2 separate regions of the Homo sapiens genome follow, and region 1 is linked to region 2. Evidence: promoter capture Hi-C in 16 types of primary human blood cells and fetal thymus (Javierre and others, 2016). All regions are on one chromosome and are shown on one strand. The core of a region is centred on a gene start or on the middle of the fragment in contact, and the rest is flanking DNA. Distances in the headings are between cores, read along the strand shown.

Region 1 (2,775 bases), core at 240-2,739, 1.0 Mb after region 2:
TCTTTCCTCTTCTTTTAGAGATAAGGTCTCACTATGTTGCCCATGCTGAAGTACAGTGGCTTTTCACAGATGCAATGATAGCACGCTACAGCCTTGACCTCCTAGGCTCAAGCAATCCTCCCGCCTCAGCCTCTCGAGTAGCTGGGACTACAGGCTGTTGCCACTGCATCCGGCTGCCTCAGTCTCTTTACTTGAGAAATGGGACAATAACTTCCATCTCCAGAGTAATTTGGAAACCAAAGAAGAACACACACAAAGCTGTTTCATTAAGTTCTCTGTAACATGGGGGACTCTGGCTACAACTTACATCATCTGAACACCTACTATGTGCCAGGCACTCACCCTGATCACCGTCACCGGGCATGCTGAGCACTGCCATTTCTCACCCAGGCAGAGATGCTTGGAGGTTATGTAACTGAACACGATTACACAGCTGTGAAGCTGGAGCTGGACCTGGAACTGAGGTCAAACTCCACCGCCTTTGCTCCCCACACACCTGCCTACACCCTGCCTCTGGGAATGGTGTTTCAACCCTCACACAGGGGGACAATCCTCCCAGGCTTCCTCTCCAACCCCACCCCGATGGTGGGTAGGGCAGAATTCCGCCCAACTCCCTAAGTTACAAAGGGCCTCAGTTTCCTCATCTGTCCAACAGGGACCACACTGCTGCGCCTCACAGGATGACGGCTACAGGGATCAACCGCCCCCCACACCAAAGCACCCTGGGCCTCCCTCGCACTCTCCTGTTCCCCACCTGCCACCTGGAGACGCCTCTTCCCCGCCCCTCACCCTTAGGCGTGGAGGCGAATGCGCAGGTCGCCCCCATCTCAGTTTCCCCGCCATTCCCGCGCTCACCAGGGGTCCGGCTGCCGTCGCTCAGCGGGTGCCATGGGTCACGGTCGGTGGCCACGAGTAGGCACTCGGGGTCGCGCAGGTGCGCGCACGCCTCCCTCAGCTTGGCGAAGGAGAAGTGCTCGTCGTAGCCCACAAGCACGGCGCGCACGCGCGGGGCCGCGCCGTCCCCCGCGCTCGGGTCCCCGGCCAGGCGCAGCCCCGCGGCGCGCAGCTCGGCGCGCAGCCCCTCGCCGCCCAGCACGAACACGGCGCCCGGCGCGTCCGGAGGCCCGGGCAGGCGCTGGCGCAGCAGGCGCGCGGCGCACAGCGCGGAGCTGAAGAGCTGCTCGGCGCGCAGCCCCCCGAAGCCGAGGCGCGCGAAGCGCAGGGCCAGCTCGGGCCGCGCGCGCCGGCTGTTGTTGCTCACAAACAGAGCCGCCTTGCCGGCCCGCGCCAGCCGCTCCAGCAGCTCCGGGGCGCCCGGCACGGCGCGCTCGCCGTTCCACAGCACCCCGTCACAGTCGAACAGGACCCCCTGCGCCCGGCCCAGCACGTCGCGCAGGGCCGCTCCGCGCAGCCTCTCGCAGCGCGCCATGCAGCCGGCCGGCCGCCGGCCTCCCGCGCCGCGCTCTCTCCGCGGGCACGGCGCGCTCTCCCTGGCACGTTCCACGCAGCCGCCAATTGGCGCGCTGGAAGGACCGGGGGGCGGGGCGACGGCGTGGCCTGCAGCCAATGGGGGCGAGAGTCTGGGAGAGGAGCGAAGCCGCGAGCTAACGGAACTTGGAGAGAGGGGCGGATTCGTGGCCAACACCGAGGGGAAGGGACCAATGAAGAGCTAGCTTGATCCTTCTCCCCGTCCCTGGTTCTGCTGGACCAGTCGCCGCCGAGTTTCAACGCCGACTACACTCTTACGCGGTGGGAGACTGACGCTCTTCTTAACCAATAAGAATCTACAAACAAAACGCGAAGCGAAAGGCCCCGTGCCCTCCAGCCAATCAGAAGCTTAGGCGAGCTGGTTGCTGGGAGAAAAACAGATGTTAAATGAACTGCCTTTGGGTCGAATCTCATTGCCCCCTGAATCGTGGACGCTCCAGTTCAGAGCGAAGTCCCAAGAAACGTGTGTGTACGATGGGGTACGAGGCACATGGTGTCTTCTTGGGTGCTGGAGCCCTCGGTCTAGACCAGTAGTTCTTCACACTGCGTTAGAGTCCCCTGGGAACTTATTTTCAGATATCATTTACATATAGTAAAATGCATAGATCTTAAATGTACAGTTCAATGTCTTGACAAATGCTTTTGAAATCACCGATGTGTAGCAGGACAGATCCTCATGTAAGTGTTTTGGGTGAAGACTGGGCATTTTTTGGTTTGTTGGTTAGTTGGTTTAATTCCAGGGATTCTACCGTGAGCTAGGATAGGGTAGGGAAGCACTGGGCTAGAGGCTGGTAGGCTGTCACTGCAGCACGCCCCGGGAGGGCAGGATCCAGAATGGTCGTGGCCAATTGCCCAGAATAGTAATGGGGTGACCCAGGTTGGCTGGGTCCCTGTCTTAGGGAGGAGGCCTTGTGATCTGGAAGCAACCACAGGTCTTGGGACCTTTGAGGAGCCACTGGTCTGCAGTGTGGGGATGAATGAATTGTGAGCTGTGGTGTCACAGTTTTGAAGTTGTCTGCCAACTTCAGATAAGGCTGTGACCCCCAGGAGCAACTGGAGCTCCAACGACTTGGGAAAAACTGTACCTTGTACCCAACCTTGGAAGCTCAACTAGCTCCTATTCCCCAAGTGCCCTAAGCCTTTTGCTCCTGGCCTTTGCATAGATAGTCTCCTTGGCCTGAATGTTCCTTTTTCCTTTAAAAATTTCACCTTCAGGGCCGGGCTCGGTGGCTCACGCCTGTAATCCCAGCACTTTGGGAGGCTGAGGTGGGCGGATCACGAGGTCAG
Region 2 (2,700 bases), core at 188-2,687:
AACCCCGTCTCTACTAAAAATACAAAAATTAGCCGTGCGTAGTGGCAGGAGCCTGTAATCCCAGCTACGCGGGAGGCTGAGACATGAGAATCGCTTGAGTCCAGGAGGTGAAGGTTGCAGTAAGCCGAGATCGCCCCGTTGCAATTCAGCCTGGGCGACAAAAGTTAAACTCCATCTTAAAAAAAAAAAAAAAAAAAAAGGCCGGGCACGGTGGCTCACTTCTGTAATCCCAACACCTTGGGAGGCCAAGGCGGGTGGATCACCTGAGGTCGGGAGTTCGAGACCAGCCTGACCAACATGAAGAAACCCCTCTACTAAACACACAAAATTAGCCGGGCGTGGTGGCGCATGCCTGCAATCCCAGCTACTCGGGAGGCTGAGGCAGGAGAATTGCTTGAACCCGGGAGGCGGACGTTGCGGTGAGCGGAGATCATGCCATTGCACTCCAGTCTGGGCAACAAGAGCGAAACTCCGTCTCCAAAAAACAAAACAAAACAACTAAATTTGAAGTGCAACAGTTTCTTCTCGTTTTTCCAGTTTTACAGAAAACCCAAAAGAAGGGCAGCTAAGGTGGATAATGATGCCTACCACGCACCCTAAGAGTAGGTAAAGGGGAAAAAATGAAATCCACGTGGGACTGCGAGTAGTTTTCGCCTTTTCCCGAAGACGCACACAATGCGCTTAGGTATACCTCGCGCAGAGGTCTCTGCAGAGAGGAAAGCCACCGTGAGAAGAGCGGGGAGCCCCCAGGCAAGAAGGCAGTGGCTTGTGTGTAGTGAACCGAAATGCGACACCAAGGAACTGCAACAGGATTCTCCTTTCCACTTGAAATGTGACTCCCAGCGAGACACCTACCCTTGACGCTCCCTGGACAGTGCGGCACGGTCGGGCCCACTAACCAAGGCAATTTGCGCCCGACCGAATCAGGTGCTTCAAAATCCCCCCTGGTGAGCCGCGCGTTAACCACACATAAAACAGTCAACGCAGAAGGAGCGAGAACGTTCGGCCGAAAAGCCCGGCACAGAGAAGGGAGGGGTGCTGAAAGCCGCGGACTGCAGCCGCTGGCCTGGCTGCCGCCCCGAAACAACGCCCACGCCCGGGAGAAGGGCAGGCTGGCGTCCAGGTAGGACTCCCTCAGGCCGCCCCGCCAGGGGCCGCGCCGAGCGGAGCGGCTGGACCCCAACCCTGCCGGCCGCCGCCGAGGTGCGCAGCCCGCAGCCCCACACCCACGGCCTTTGCAACACCCCAACCGTTGAACTGCGCCCCTACACGCCCGGCGTCTGCGGCTCCCAGGCCGGTGCCGATGACGTCAGACTTACGTCAGGCGTGACGCCACGGCTGGGAGGAGTGAGGACGGCGCGGGAGGGCGTTTCCGGAGCACGCGCCGGGCGGGGGCCGCTGACGTCGGGCTCAGGTGCGCGCGCCCGCCCGCACGGCCCAGTTGGCGGCGCGCACTCCAGGTGGCGGCCGGCTGCGGTGAGGGGACCGCCAGCGGCGAGCAGTCCCGGCGGCCCTGGGGTCTGCGGCCGGGGGCGCGGCGGGAGGGCGTCTGGGCCTGCGCTCACGTGACGGGCGGGGAGGTTTGTGTAGGGGCTGCGAGCCGGGTGGGCGCGGGCCCGGGAGCGCGAGGCTGACTGTCCGGCCCCACCCCTCGCGGGCCAGCCCTTCGCCGCGCGGAACCTTCCCTCGGGCAGGGGCCGGCCCCGCCGCTCACTTCCCGCGCCCGCTCGCCGCTGACCGGAGTTGTCTCCTCCTCCGCAGGGCCGCGGCCAGAGGGCTAGAATCCGCGCCTTCCGAGGGAGCCGCGCCCTGCGGGCCCCACCGTACCCGAGGGGATGGAGGGCTGCCCCCGAGGCCCCCGCGCGGCTCGCGGTCCCACGCCTGCCGGCCCGCGCTAGCTACTCGACTCGTGCGCTAAATTTATCCGTCACCCAGGCCTTGTCTCCCGAGTCATTGGCGTCGTGGTTCAAAAGAAATGGAAGAAAAGGAGCGATGTGACCGATTGTGTTCGGTCCTCCTGCTTTGAGGCCTGGCATTTGCAGAGGGAAACAGCAAGAAAATCGTGGGGATTTTGGAGGGGGGTGGGAGGGAAGGGTGGGGAAACGGAAACAAGGTCTTACATTTTATGTGTTTTTTTAAATTCTGCACTTTGACAGTGGTAGCAAAATAAAAGTAATCCAAAAGTTATTTTTCTATTGAGAAGAGAGAAGAGGTGGGTTTTATTTTTTTCCTTTTGATTCCAATCTTTTCTCCCAGTGACAAAGCATAAATCATGGACACCAGAGAATAAGGTGGACCTCAGGAATCCGGAAAAGACTGAGAAGCTTACATTCTTCCTCTAGAGGGAAGAGTGGGGTGTTTATAGCCATCTCTGGAACCTAAAACAAAAAACATGAGTTGTGTGCCATGGAAAGGAGACAAGGCCAAATCTGAATCATTGGAGCTGCCCCAGGCAGCACCCCCACAAATCTACCATGAGAAACAGCGCAGGGAGCTTTGTGCCCTCCACGCCCTCAATAACGTCTTCCAGGACAGCAATGCCTTCACCCGGGATACGCTGCAAGAGATTTTCCAGAGGTAGGGGACCCTTCTCCTTGGCATCTTGATACTGATATTTCTGGATTTCTGTGGGTGGGGCAGTGTCTCAGCTTCATAAACCTTCAAAGCTGTAGGTATTAGCTAGATTGCGTTAGCAGGTAT

Evidence for each region. The method cuts DNA at HindIII sites, captures the fragments that hold promoters and counts their contacts. A CHiCAGO score of 5 or more calls a contact.
Region 1: a contact is called between the fragment with the promoter of PDXP here and the fragment with the promoter of JOSD1 in region 2, in 1 of 17 cell types (fetal thymus). The highest score is 8.3, in fetal thymus.

What each region holds. Positions count from the first base shown.
Region 1 is chr22:37,657,437-37,660,211 of GRCh38, reverse strand. It overlaps PDXP (pyridoxal phosphatase), which reads right to left and starts at 1,489. Exons shown (of 2, transcript NM_020315.5): 1 at 856-1,489. The coding sequence starts at 1,429. PDXP-DT (PDXP divergent transcript) reads left to right here and starts at 1,835. Exons shown (of 6, transcript NR_109952.1): 1 at 1,835-1,957. RefSeq lists enhancers at 1-286, 1,113-1,614, 1,803-1,852, 1,863-1,932 and silencers at 993-1,102, 1,303-1,612. The HindIII fragment of the contact is 9,798 bases long and covers 1-1,838 here.
Region 2 is chr22:38,699,680-38,702,379 of GRCh38, reverse strand. It overlaps JOSD1 (Josephin domain containing 1), which reads left to right and starts at 1,437. Exons shown (of 5, transcript NM_001360236.2): 1 at 1,437-1,580; 2 at 1,762-2,577. The coding sequence starts at 2,393. RefSeq lists a silencer at 971-1,930. The HindIII fragment of the contact is 4,284 bases long and covers 1-2,326 here.